3 separate regions of the Homo sapiens genome follow, and regions 2 and 3 are each linked to region 1. Evidence: promoter capture Hi-C in 16 types of primary human blood cells and fetal thymus (Javierre and others, 2016). All regions are on one chromosome and are shown on one strand. Each heading gives the region's core, a stretch centred on a gene start or on the middle of the fragment in contact. The rest is flanking DNA. Distances are from core to core; before and after follow the strand shown. Region 1 holds the start of VDAC2 (voltage dependent anion channel 2). Region 2 holds the start of AP3M1 (adaptor related protein complex 3 subunit mu 1). Region 3 holds the start of VCL (vinculin).

What was found. The method cuts DNA at HindIII sites, captures the fragments that hold promoters and counts their contacts. A CHiCAGO score of 5 or more calls a contact.
Region 2: a contact is called between the fragment with the promoter of AP3M1 here and the fragment with the promoter of VDAC2 in region 1, in 14 of 17 cell types (fetal thymus, neutrophils, total B cells and 11 more). The highest score is 28.2, in fetal thymus.
Region 3: the fragment with the promoter of VCL here is called in contact with the fragment with the promoter of VDAC2 in region 1 in 4 of 17 cell types (neutrophils, total B cells, monocytes and 1 more); the score reaches 9.5 in neutrophils.

Annotation. Positions count from the first base shown.
Region 1 is chr10:75,208,087-75,212,425 of GRCh38, reverse strand. It overlaps VDAC2 (voltage dependent anion channel 2), which reads right to left and starts at 1,630. Exons shown (of 10, transcript NM_001391963.1): 1 at 1,488-1,630; 2 at 1,237-1,292; 3 at 128-196. The coding sequence starts at 1,267. RefSeq lists silencers at 1,357-1,726, 1,747-2,056, 4,161-4,339 and enhancers at 1,701-1,995, 1,726-2,307. The HindIII fragment of the contact is 6,617 bases long and covers 1-2,953 here.
Region 2 is chr10:74,148,857-74,153,185 of GRCh38, reverse strand. It overlaps AP3M1 (adaptor related protein complex 3 subunit mu 1), which reads left to right and starts at 2,358. Exons shown (of 9, transcript NM_012095.6): 1 at 2,358-2,431. It overlaps ADK (adenosine kinase), which reads right to left and starts at 1,965. Exons shown (of 11, transcript NM_006721.4): 1 at 1,843-1,965. The coding sequence starts at 1,907. RefSeq lists enhancers at 1,615-1,794, 2,205-2,434. The HindIII fragment of the contact is 5,595 bases long and covers 1-2,669 here.
Region 3 is chr10:73,996,413-74,001,091 of GRCh38, reverse strand. It overlaps VCL (vinculin), which reads right to left and starts at 2,976. Exons shown (of 22, transcript NM_014000.3): 1 at 2,717-2,976. The coding sequence starts at 2,884. RefSeq lists enhancers at 2,024-2,675, 2,748-2,947 and silencers at 2,628-2,677, 3,008-3,367. The HindIII fragment of the contact is 4,841 bases long and covers 1-4,365 here.

The sequences.
Region 1 (4,339 bases), core at 381-2,880:
AATAAGTAACTCTAAATTTAAAGCAGCAAGATATTTACAATTTGCAATGATTGATCTGATTTCGCTAAGCAACCCAAACATACATTTTCACTCTTTATCTAAAACGTTTTAAAAATAAGGTTCTTACCAAATCCTTTGTTGAAAATATCTCTGGCAGCTTTGCCAAGGTCAGCATATGATGGAGGAATACACATTGCTGGTAGAAAAAAAACATTCCAGTGTTAATGTCTCTATTCTCCCACCTTCTATCCAAGAACAAGAGCATGACCCACTGCTGATATTAAAATTCAAGCAATCCCATTTGTTGGAATGTTTTTTATGCGGTCAGGAGCTACAATAGAACTATAACGACCCATAAAGGAGATACCACCAACGAATTATTTCTAAAACAGATAACCATGATTATACAAACTTGGGGAATTCGTTTCAAAACGGAAAAACAGTCTATTACCTACAGCCTCACTTCCTAGGACTGGACAAGTACAAAGAATCAAACAAGTATTTGTGTGTATGGATATTTATGTATCTGCCAAAATTCACTGAGATGAGCTGATTTAACTAAATTAGATAAAACCGAAACCTAAGACTAGGCCCTTTACCCTGATACGTCCTTTAATATCTTCGCTGAGGGGAAAACCAACACCCTGGAGTGGGAAGAGAATTTAATACTGGGAATTTAAATATTGAAACTTGGAAAAAATACTGCCATGTGTGTTTCACTCAAATGTCTACATCAACTAAATATCAAATAGCGCTTCAAACTTACTAATGTGACTCTCAAGTCCTCGGCCAATGCTGTGCTGCTTAAGGGCAGGCAATCTGAGCTCATTACACCAGCTCATTCATTCCACAAAGCACGTCCACGCCCTTAGGAGCACAAGTAATGACCTTGCGCTCTCACAAGAGGGACTGCTACTTCCTCTAGAAAAGTGATTGATCCGATCCTCCAAAGGCAGAATCCCCAATTAACAACTTTTTACTTCTATACGTCAAAGACATGTACAAAGGCTGAAAAGTCCATGCGGCCACAGACCAACTCCCCGGGCCTTGTTCCCCATTTGAAATCCAGCAGCCCAGCCCCTCCTCCGCAGAGGAGGTGGTCAGACGGTGGGGCGACCACCAAAAGCAGCCGAATTTCCAAGTTCTTGGAAAGATAGGGGGAAACAAACTGGGTTTCTGGTCGACAGGCTTCGACTCTCCGCCGCCCCATCCCGCAGAGATCCCAGCTTTACTTACGACGCGCGCAAGTCTGTCCGTGGGTCGCCATGGCGAGGCCGCGGGAAGAGGGGAATCTGCGGGAGGGACAAGAAGTGCGGTAAGCTGGGGTCAAAGGGCCAAAGGGAGATCCCGGGCAGAGAGGGGCGAGGGGCCGCGGGGCAGCGCGGCCATCTTAGGAAGCCAGGGCCGACTCCGAGTCCGGCGCGGGCCTCCGGCTTGGCCGCCGCGGCCTAGGCCCCTGGGTCGGCGTGAGGCGGGCGCGGCGGTACCTGGTGGTGTCCTGAGGGGGGCCGCCGCCACCGCTCCGCTAGCTGCTGAAGCCGCTTGGCACGCTCGCGGTCGGGCTGCAGCTCCAGCAGCTGGAGGGCGAAGTGAAGGAGACACCGTTCCGCCCGCCGCAACCCTGTCCTCTCCCAGACAGGACCCCGCCGCTGCCCCCGGGGCTGTCCGCCGCGCCTGTCCCTGCAGCGCAGCCCGCTGCCAACTCCAACCTGCTCCAGAGCGGCCACGTGGACCGACAGCGCCCCGGTCCTGCAGGTGGGCTGCCTCCGTCCGTCGGTGGGGATCCGGAAGGCAGAAGCTGCTGGGCCTTGGATCAGGCAGCTATCCGGGCAGCCTCAGAGGCGAGGGGGCGGGGAACGGCGGAGGCAGCGCGCTGGGGACCGCCTGGGAGGGGGATGGGGCGGAGGCCCCGCGCGAACGCGTCACGGACGGGGCGGGGCGTCGGCGCGTGGCCGGGGCGATAGGGCGCGGCTGCGCACCAGGGTCACGTAGATCTCTCCTACTCCCCTTACGCGCTGGTGCGGGTTCCCCCCCGAAACAAAGCCCTGCATAGGGTGCCTGCGGGGAGTCAGCTGAGCGTTACCCACGTCCATCCTAAGCTAGCGCAGCCTGCGCTTCTGAGGGACCGCTTCTCTTTCCCAGCCCAGGGAGAACGAGTGGGACACAGGGGCGCCACCTCCAGCCCCTCGCGCTCTTCTGCCCTCTTTTCCCACCTTGGTGTGACTGCCTTGCTGTGCTGGGTTGTGTGCCTGAGAGGCTTTTTGGGACTGCCTCTCCCTGAACAAATGTGAGCGGGTCCTAGCGTGCCCCACCCATTTCCACGCCGCCTTACGCTTTCTCTTCCGCGGCTCCTCCCCACTCAGGCATGGCACTGCTTCACACACGCACGGAGCCGGAGCTTGGCGAGGCAAGCCTGCTCCGGGCCCAACCTCCTCTGGATTATGGGCCTGGAGAAAATGTGGAATCATGCTGAGCAGGCGTTAGAATGCCGCACCCGAGTTCCCCGGGTGTGCAGGAAGGGTGACAGAGCTATTAGATAAAATGTATATGGGAGACCGTTAGTTTAGACTGACCTCCTGCATTAGGCCCATCAGACCAAACCAAAATGGGGTTACTCATGCTGAAGTTTCACACTACCACGCCAAAGCTAGGATCTTTATCTGACCTTCCAAGAAATCAGGAGAGAAACAGATGCTAGCCAGATCCCCAAACAGGCTGGGCGCGGTGGCTCACACCTGTAATACCAGCACTTTTGGATGCCGAGGTGGGCGGATCGCCTGAGCTCAGGAGTTCCGGACCAGCCTAGGCATAGTAATACCCTGCCTCTACCAAAAAAAAAAAAAAAAAAAAAAAAAATAGCCGGGCGTGGTGGCTGGCGCCTGTAGTCCCAGCTAATTGGGAGGCTGAGGAGGGAGGATCGCTTGAGCCTGGGAGGTTGAGGCTGTAGTAAGCTTAGATGGTGCCACTACTGCACTCCAGCCTGCCCGCTGGAGTAAGACCCTGTCTCAAAACAAAAATCCCCAAACAGGTCAGTTTTAGCTGGCATGAAGAAGTCCCGTGTTCTTTAACCTTTACAAGAAAAGTAACTTTCTACCAACTAATCCACTTTTTGTTTCTGCTTTCCTCGGTCCTTTTCTGTCTGTAATACCAACTTCCTCTTCTCATTGGAACATTCATTCCATTTTACAGAATGAAGCGTTGCCCAATTGTAGAATTGGAACTAAAAGCCAGTTAAGATGTTTAAACTAAATTCTTTGTAATTTTTTCTTTTAACAGAGCCAAAGGAAAAAGAAAAAATGAGCAGTCTAATGAAATAGAAATGGGTTCAACTGGAACTCCCAAAGCAGTCATCTATCCAATAATGTCGCCGGTAGACCTCAGTGGTTTTTTTGGGTTTTCTTCTTTTTTTTTTGAGACGGAGTCTCGCTCTGTCGCCCAGACTGGAGTGCAGTGGCGCGATCTCGGCTCACTGCAATCTCCACCTTCCGGGTTCACGCCATTCTCCTGCCTCAGCCTCCCGAGTAGCTGAGACCACAGGTGCCTGCCACCACGCCCGGCTAATTTTTTGTATTTTTAGTAGAGTCGGGGTTTCACCATGTTAGCCAGGATGGTCTCGATCTCCTGACCTCGTGATCTGCCAGTCTCGGCCTCCCAAAGTGCTGGGATTACAGGTGTGAGCCACCGCGCTCGGCCTACCTCATTTTTTTAATCTATAAAATGACAAATGAAACGAAGTGATCTTTAATAGCCATCAGCCATAGTCTCTGAGCAAAGCCTTTTCCCCCTTGACTTTCTCTGGCTCTGAAAGCCATGTCTGCTCAAATGCTCTCAACGTTCTACCCTCCTCCTAAACCAGAAAAGGATAGGCTTCCACAGTTCAAAACCCAGATGAAAGCTGCAGCCTGGAAGATTTCCCTCCCATGAGCAAGCCCAGCCAGCTGTCTTGCCTGGTCATGACTGGGCTTACTCATGTTGCAAAAGGTTAGCAGAATTTACTTCTAAGACATCAGGCACCAGAAGCCCTCATTCATTCCTTCATTCGAGCTCAGACAGGTCGGTTTGCAGTCATCCTGGCTCTTCTGGGAAATAGTCTGGTATGTTTGATGTTATTGTGAGGCTAACAACAAAGACCGGCATTTCCATCCCAACTGCACCACAGCACCCTACCTCCCCGAAACACCCAGTCTGATAAATGAGTCACCTCCACTACCTGCAGCAGGGCTTATTCACAATGTGAATTTTCTGTAGCAATTTGTAGCCCCCTGCACTTCACTTTCTCTGTGGCTTCACCTTCTGCAAACCCAAGGAATGTACACAATACCTAATGACCAGGGGAAGA
Region 2 (4,329 bases), core at 1,109-3,608, 1.1 Mb after region 1:
TATTTTTCCTGACATCTACAAATATATCTCATTATTTGTTCCCACTGATGCTGCACATTAAATTATGCAAAGTCTTTATAATCCATTCTCCTTAACCAAAACCAGTAGCAATCCCCTGTCAAGCAAGTCATCATAAATTCAGTGTAAATACTCAATGCATTATCACACTTTGAGTCTGAAAGCAAATTAATATAATAAAAGTAATAATAGCCGATCCTAAAATGTCTCCCCACAAAATTAGAGATTTGTCCCAGTACTCAAGTGTCTAATCTTTTAACTTCATGTCTACAGGTGGCACTAAATTCATATTGTATAAAGTGAATTTTAGTTGCCTAAGGAATGCTCTCACCACAGCCTCACAAAGCACCAGGACTGCAGGTATAAGAAAACATGCTCAGCTAGTTCCTATTTCTGTTCCTGTACTAATTGTTTTATTTGGGCTTCAATATCTTCAATTGTAAAATAGGCATAATTCTTGCCTTCCTTTGATCACAGAACTGTCCAACAAGATAATAAATAGGAAAACACAGTGAAAATGGATCAGCATTATATATAATAATTTTTATTAAGGAAAAATCTAAGGAAATCTAAGGGTTATATGTTCAGTAGGATGGTAGGGAAAAGTTGCATCTGTCTTCCAGTTTGGCGAAGGAGGTGCCTTATAAGGAAATACTCTAATAAAGGGCAGAGTAGGGAAAGCACATGCCTTGAACTCAGGTAGGTCTGATTCAAAAGCCGTTGCTTTTTATTCTGCATATAGTTGGAATATTTAAAATAAAAATAGAATATCCTGAGGGTTTTTATTTTAAAGTTTATGTTCTTGGTATAAGGTAGGCACACTAACCCTTTGAGGGTAGTAGGAATACATTAAAGGAACTGGCAAGGATTTGTTCACCCTCCATTCAAAGCAGCATGAACACACCACCAGGCCCCTAAGTGTCCTTTTCTTTTCAATTGTGAGTGATTCCTTCCTTTGGAGGTGAAGAAGAGTGATACTGGAAGAAATGGGATATGTCCTGTTTAATCAGGAGTGTCCTAATAGTTTTAAATCAGTTTGATATGTCTATTTTAAGATGGAAAAAAAAATCGCTGCCTTTCAGCGAACATTTCCAAATCATCAAAGACTGCCTGCTTCACTTTATACTTATTAGGAAGGGATATTTTAACAAATGACTCTTCATAAGTAAAAGTTGCAACATCAATCACATGTGAGGCAGGTGTTAGGGGCAGCACTGTCCCCGTTGCTGCCAAAAAGTGTAAATAAAAAAGAGAAATCAACCTTTCCTATCCATTCATCCAAATGCTGCCCCTGCAAAGCATCGGAGGGGTCTGGGTCCCTGGTAGAGGGTCCTCAAAGGTACGGGCTTTCAGAATGTGCACGAAAAGGAAGGTCAACGTGCCCTTCCGCAACACTCTGAAAAATCCCCAAGAATTCTGACTTTGCCCCAGTGTACAGCAGTTGCCGAGCCTCTTTCCCGCCATCCCCCGGGAAGAGAAGGCGGCCGCCTACAGACGCTGCTCCGGTCCGACCCTCCGGGGTCGCACCAGCCCAGCCTGGGCTTGCTCGCAGGTGGCGCGGTCAGCCAGCTCGGTCCCCCTGCGGGCCACGACTGGCGAAGGGCTGCTGGAGCCGGAGCTGCACCAGACAGGCGGGGACTCAGCCAAACGGAGAGAACGTCTGGCAAGGGGTCGCGGCCAAGCGGGCAGCTGGGGGAGGTCCTGCGTGTTGGCCCCAAGCTGGCAGTGAGAGACACCACCCAGCGTCGGGGCCGTGCAACCCCACGTGGGCCCTGGCTTGCTTGCAGCGCCGTCACCCTCCTCCCCAAGTCCGGCAGCGCTCACCTCAGCGCTTGCGGCGCCTCCACCTTCAGCTTTTTGGGCTTCGGCTCCTCCTCAGCAGCTGCCATCTTCGCGCTCCCACCCCACTTTGGCTCTACAGCCCACCTCTGCCATCCACTCTCTGGTCCCGCCCCCTCTTCGCATCACCGCTTTCTCTTCTCCAAATCCCGCCCCTCCAGACTCCGCCCATTCTGTGCCGCTGTCATCCACAATCATTGGCTCTATCCGTCGGCACCAACAGCGAATGCCCCGCCCATTCCTGACCCCGCCTCCCCTACCATGAGGGACCCCAGACTGCGTTAGGCAGCAGATGACCGCCTGAATCTAGATGGAGAGAAACCCACCATTTTTCTAGGCCCTGGATTATGTAGAAGATTTAGATACTAAGCCTCAAGAGACGTCTTTCCTCTCATTTACGGTCTTCCTGCATATTTAAAATTTCTAATACGGTAGACAGAGTCGGTGTCTTTGAAGCTGTTAATCAGGCAATTTCCTGGGCACTCCAGCTGCGGGTCCTCGCGGCCTTCTCGGCTTCTCCAGCTTCGGTAGGAGAGGATCCGGCGCCGAATCACTGACTGGCACAGGTGTTGGGGTGAGTGTGAGGGGCGGGAAATCTGTGGACTGGGGACAGCTCCAAAACCCGGGAGTAGGCTGAATAGCTGGGGCCCCCGACTCCGATCTGGGCTCTAGGAGCGTCTTTGGTGCTGTTGGCCCGGGCCTCGCTTCCCCCCCACTCCCGGCCTTCCGGGCTTTCTCGCCAGCAAGGCCAGAAGGGAGCGGTCCACCTGCAGCCCAGTGTTCTCAGGCGCCTGAGCCCCGGAGGTCAAGCTTACTGGGTTCCCCCTCTATAGTGAGCTGGAGTACAGACGGCAGGAATCTCAGTCCCAGGTTTCTGCTTTGGAGGACAAAACCCCAAACGGACCTGAGCAGACGTCCTGTTAGCGGGTGGTGCCTGGAAGAGCCTGGGGTGAGGAATGCAGTGAGAAGGGTGTTGCAGTTCTTCAGGAGAGAGGTAACGGGGTTCTAAGCTGAGCAGGTGGCAGTGAGTGTGGAAGAGTGACGGGCGATGTGGCTGTTTGTATTTGGTAGATTTGTTTGAACCTGAAACTTACAGCCTTATGTGTGATTAAGAAGATGGTGCCAGTGACAGGAGGAGGTATTTTATGGAGTTTGAGTTTTATCGAATTTGAAACAGTGGTTTACATGGAGATTGTAGAAAGACTTTAAAAAAAATTATGAGAATTAAGCCCGAAAGACTTTCAAGGTGAGACCCAAAACAGATGAAGTTTCATATAAAAGGGTAAGAAGTATTTTTGTTTAGGAGAAAGTTATCAATGACATAAAATGCTGCAATGGTCAGAGGAGGAAGCTGAAATCAGAATAGGTCGTTGGATTTTATAATTAGAAAGTCATTGAGCTGTTTGAGAGAGATGCTTTAATAGTAACTGAGGAAAGACTGCAAGTGTAGACCAATCCTTCATCATTTGGGGCATGAAGCAAGATTATTGAGAGTGGCAAGGTGGGGGAAAGTTTGGGGTTTGTTTTAAAGAATACAAGATATCTATTTGGGGGCAGGAAGCAAGCAACTATTTGAAGATTCAAGAAAAAGTCTTGTCTCCCAGAAGAGAAGGAAAGGAATGGGATCAAGTTACAAGTGAAAGGATTAATTTGGGAAAGACAGAGGGACACTTTCAATTGACACTATAGGAGAAGTGAAGTGAATGAGGTTAATGAAGAATTATCTTAATTTACGAATCTTGGCCAGGCGCGGTGGCTCACGCCTGTAATCTCAGCACTTTGGCAGGCTGAAGCGGGCGGATCACAAAGTCAGGAGTTCGAGACCAACCTGGCCAACATAGTGAAACCCTGTCTCTACTAAAAATACAAAAATTAGCCAGGTGTGGTGGCACACGCCTGTAGTCCCAGCTACTTGGTAGGCTGAGGCAGGAGAATCCCTTGAACCCGGGAGGCGGAAGTTGCAGTAAGCTGAGACCTCACCACTGCACTCCACCCTGAGCGACAGAGCGAGACTCTGCCTCGAAAAAAAAAAAAAAAAAAAAAAAAAAAAAAAAAAAAAAACCTTACGTATCTTTAGGAAAGCTCTCTTTGCAACAAGATTATATTTTCTTACTTAATCTTATGATTTTTATTTCTAACCATTTAATATAATATACGGCCAGGCACGGTAGGGCTCATGCCTGTAATCCCAGCACTTTGAGAGGCTGAGGTGGGTGGATCACGAGGTCAAGAGATCGAGACCATCCTGGCAAATATGGAGAAACCCCGTCACTACTAAAAATATAAAAATTATCTGGGCGTGGTGGCACGTGCCTGTAGTCCCAGCTACTCGGGAGGTTGAGGCAGGAGAATCGCTTGAACCCAGGAAGCGGAGGTTGTGGTAAGCTGAGATTGCGCCACTGCACTCCAGCCTGGCAATAGAGTAAGACTCCGTCTCAAAAAAAAAAAAAACAAACCAATATACTATGGGCA
Region 3 (4,679 bases), core at 1,727-4,226, 1.2 Mb after region 1:
ATAAGGCCTATGTTACACTGCCCATATGTCACGCACTAACTTCATCTCCAATTTCTCTCCAACTTGTCTCCTGAGCTGCAATCAAGATAATCTACTTGCTGTAACCTGGAAGTGACTTACTCACAAGTACCTTTGTTCATGATTAACTATTTATCAGCACAATCCTCCCTACTTTGTCTCTGCTAACCCATAGCTACCACCAATCTCAAGTCCCCTCTTTTGTATGTGTTGGAAAGTATATAACTTAACTACATATCATTGTTTTCATCTTATAACCTTATTTCTTTTGTATTTGTCTCACAGTGTGTATTACAGTGTTTCCTAACTAAGGCCGTATATCACAATCACCTATGGAGCTTCCTAAAAAATACGAAGGCCTGGCCGGGCACAGTGGCACATGCCTGTAATCTCAGCACTTTGGGAGGCCGAGGCGGGCAAATCACAAGGTCAAGAGATGGAGATCATCCTGGCCAACATGGTGAAACCCCGCCTCTACTAAAAATACAAAAATTAGCTGGCCACGGTGGTGCGAACCTGTAGTCCCAGCTACTCGGGAGGCTAAGGCAGGAGAATCACTTGAACCTGGGAGGAGGACGTTGCAGTGGGCCCAGATCGTGTCACTGCACTCCAGCCTCGTGACAGAGGAAGACTCCATCTCAAAAACAAACAAACAAACAAACAAACAAAGGCCTTCAGCTACTTGGGAGGCTGAGGTGGGAGGATTTTTCTCAGTCCAGGAGATGGAGGCTGCAGTGAGCTATGATCACGCCATTGCACTCCAGCGCCTGCGTGACAGAGCGAGACCCTGTCTCAAAAAAAAAAAAAAAAAAAAGCAAAATACAAAGGCCTTGACCCGTGGGAGCTGGACATCTTAATTTCTAAAAAGCCTCACTGATGATTTTCATGAACACTCTTAAGCTGAGAAGCACTGATTTATTGCAGTGTTTTCCATATAGCAGACATTCAATGCTTATTAATTCATGGCATGGAAGCCCATAAATAACTTTTCTCTAAATAGCCTAACCAGATATCAACCCCTAGACTACACTAGCTCTGTTCCAAGTGCAACATGTGGTTTTAAGATTTCATTTCCTGAAGTACTACATGGAGAGACACTATTACCTTGTCTCTTTACATTGTTTCCTATTTGTTGAAAAATGGAGGCCTGGAATGCAGCCATGTTAGACAACACTACATAAGAATGTACTCTGGAGTGTTCTGTTCAAATTAGTTATAAAAAGAAGAACAATGTACAAGTAGACATTGTGAATGAATACAGCATTCTTACTGAATGAATAGATTCTTACTAAAGCTATAGAGAAGAAAGATCAGGAATTTGGTCGGTGGTGTCACCCTGTCTTCCTAGCTACCAGTCTCCTAAATTGCTTGAGACAGTCCAGGGACCCCTGAAGACTGAGGAAGACTTTCAGCTGCTAAAGAGCCTCTAAGTGCACTAAAGTGCTCAAATCAGAAAAGTAACCCAAGCCCCACCCAGACAGACCCACAGTTGCCGCCCAACTGCCCTGACACACACTATTTACACAGCTCAGTGGGGGAGCAGTATGAACTTTTTCCAAAATTGTTCCTCACAAGCAGGACCAGTCTGAGTCACCCACCCAGGGTGGGAAAGAAAAGTGTGACATTAGCCAGGGGAGTCTTGGGAGACTGGTCTCAGCACCTCTTTTTTCCCATTTCAGACGTGGGCTCCACCTCCTCCAGGAATCACCTCGGTTATGAGTCACAGCTGTGGGTTACAGGGGTCTGCAGAGCCACCAGGAAAGTTGTGGATGGGGAGCGGATGCCCCAGCCTTCTCTCCGGCAGGGGCGGCAGATCCCAGATTCCACAGGCCTCTCCCAACAGCTCCATCTTGCTTCCTGCCAGGAGGAGGGGCCAAGGAGGGCCCCCGAGTCTAGAAAGGCCCCAGTGGGAGGAGGCCGTTTGACAGCAGGTAACGCCAGGTGAAAATGTCCACAGGAGGGAATGAAAGGAAGGGCAGCAGGGCTGAGCGGAAGGAAAAACCGGGCTTGTGGTCACGAATGACTGCATAAAGGTGTGAGAGTGCCAGAGGAGTGAGCATAAGTAAAATGCCCAGGAGGGAGGAGGAGGCGACAGAGAGTGAGGCAAGTGAATAAAAGGGCGGAATACAGGGAGCTCTGGGGAGCGGGGGTGGGCGAGGCGGGTCTCAGGGTGAGGGGCAGAAGTATTAGAAAGGAGGACAACGTGGCTCAAATAAGGATCCCTAGAAGAGAAGGCAAGGGATCCGTGGGAAGGCCCGCTCTCCCTCCCCCGCACAGCCAGATCGAGGAGGCCTAAAAGGCGCTGAGAGCGAGGAAGTCAACGTGGGGGCGAAGCCTGCGCGGGGCAGGGACCCTCGGACATCCCAGCAACTCTCATTTATTGGGTGTCTGCTGTGGGCCACACGCCGCGCGAGGCACTCCACGAATAATACCTCGCCATATCTTCACGACAAGCCCGCAAGGCAGCCTTTTTCATGACTGCTCCCATTTTATAGATGAGGACACTGAGGCCCGGAGAGGCTCAGGACTCGCTCAAGGTCACAGGGCGGAGAAGAGGCCATTCGAACCCTCGGCGCCTGGCTCCGGAACCCACGCGGAAAGCCACGGCCAGCGAGCCGGCCACAGGCAGCCGCGACGCGGGCCGGGGCCCCGGGGATACCTCCCGCGCCCGCTCCCGCGCCAGGCCCTGCGCGCTCACCCGGACGAGGTTGCTGACGGCCGCCTGCACGGCGGCCACGGGCGCGGTGAGGTCAGGAATGGCTTTGCCGTCCACCTCGCCCTCCTCGTGCATTATCACCAGGTGGGAGATCTGCTGTGCCACCGGCTCCAGGATGCTCTCGATCGTGCGCGTATGAAACACTGGCATCGCGGCGGCGAGCGGGGCGGCGAACCGCGGGCGACAGAGAAGTAGGATCCACGGGGCCGGGAACCGGCGAAGAGACAGACTGTGCAGCGACTACGGAGTCGGGGCTTCCCTCGGCGTAACCAGCCTCACGGGCTCCCCGCCCCCTCTCGTCGCCGCGCCCAATGGCAGCGCAGCTCAGACCTGGGCCGCCACTCCTACTGGTCCCTTTTCGAGATGCTCCGCCCCAGCCACCGCGCCGCCAAACCCCGCCCCTCCCCCATTCCTAAGGGAGGGGCCTGGGATTGGGGCTGAGCCGCCGGGATTGCTACCGGATTCCCGAGCCCTAACGCCGGGCGCTCCTTATAAGGGCATGGTGGGAGCGGAGCGGGCCGCTGGAGCCGGCTGGTCCCGCCCCCGGGCCGCCTCCCGCCTCGGATCTGGGGGGCTCCGCCCCTCTGCAGAATCACCTCAGCGGGGCGGGGTCTCCTCACCTCAAGCGGCGCTAGAGTTTGATGAGACCAAGGGGTCTCCCACGTCCCCTCCTCAACTTTTCCCTTCACACGAAACCCTCAAAATACTCCTTCCATTCCCTCCCAGCAATGCATGGGAAGGTTTTTAGTAAAAGATTCAAACAGCAGAGGTGCACTGAGAAACAGCAGCGTCCCATTCACGTAAACGCAGACTCCGCCCCCTGCCCTCCTCAAAGACATTCTGTTTAACAGCTGGGTGTGTAGCCTTCTAGACTTGTCTATAGATTCACTTCTACATATATATTTTCTAACTAAATGAGATTAATAAACATTTTCCTGGAACTAGGTATGATTGCCCTTGATTAAAATGCCCTTATCTTTCACTGCTGGTAGAGGTCTACCTCATTCTTCTTAATGACTGCATGATATTCCATTGCATGAAATAAAACTATTTACAGAACCAATTTCCTACTCATGGACTTGGGTTGGGTCCTGGTTTTCACTATTAAAAAACAATTCTGCATGAATTGTACTTACCCCTGTGCTGTGCATCTGTGTATTTATCTAGCGCAAATGCCTACCAGGAAAGAGAAAAACGCAAAAGTATATGCATTTTATATTTTGATAGGTAAGACCAAATTATCCAGTTCCCTCACGCTTTGTATAAGACATCTTCCAGGCCGGGCGCGATGGCTCACGCCTGTAATCCCAGCACTTTGGGAGGCTGAGGCGGGCGGATCACGAGGTCAGGAGATCTAGGCCATCCTGTCTAACACGGTGAAACCCCGTATCTACTAAAAATACAAAAAAAATAGCCAGGCGTGGTGGCGGGCGCCTGTAGTCCCAGTTACTCATGAGGCTGAGGCAGGACAATGGCGTGAACCCGGGAGGCGGAGCTTGCAGTGAGCGGAGATCGCGCCACTACACTCCATCCTGGGCGACAGAGCAAGACTCTGTCTCAAAAAAAAAAAAAAAAAAAAAAAGACATCTTCCAAACGTCTTACTTACTTCAAATTCGCTTTTGCCCAAGCTTTCCCATTCTGAGGTAAACACTTTCAGTAATGCCTCCAAGCAAAAGATTCTCACATCAAATGAAAATTTTTGTCTAGTCCTACCACAACCACCACAGCTGTTTTCTCTGCCCATTACTTTGTGTTAATAGTATAAATATTTGGGTGATGGGGCCAGGCACGGTGGCTCACGCCTGTAATCCCAGCATTTTGGGAGGCTGAGGCAGGCAGATCACCTGAGGTCAGGGGTTCAAGACCAGCCTGGCCAACCTGGTGAAACCCCGTCTCAACTAAAAATACAAAAATTAGCCAGGTGTGGTGGCAGGTGCCTGTAAT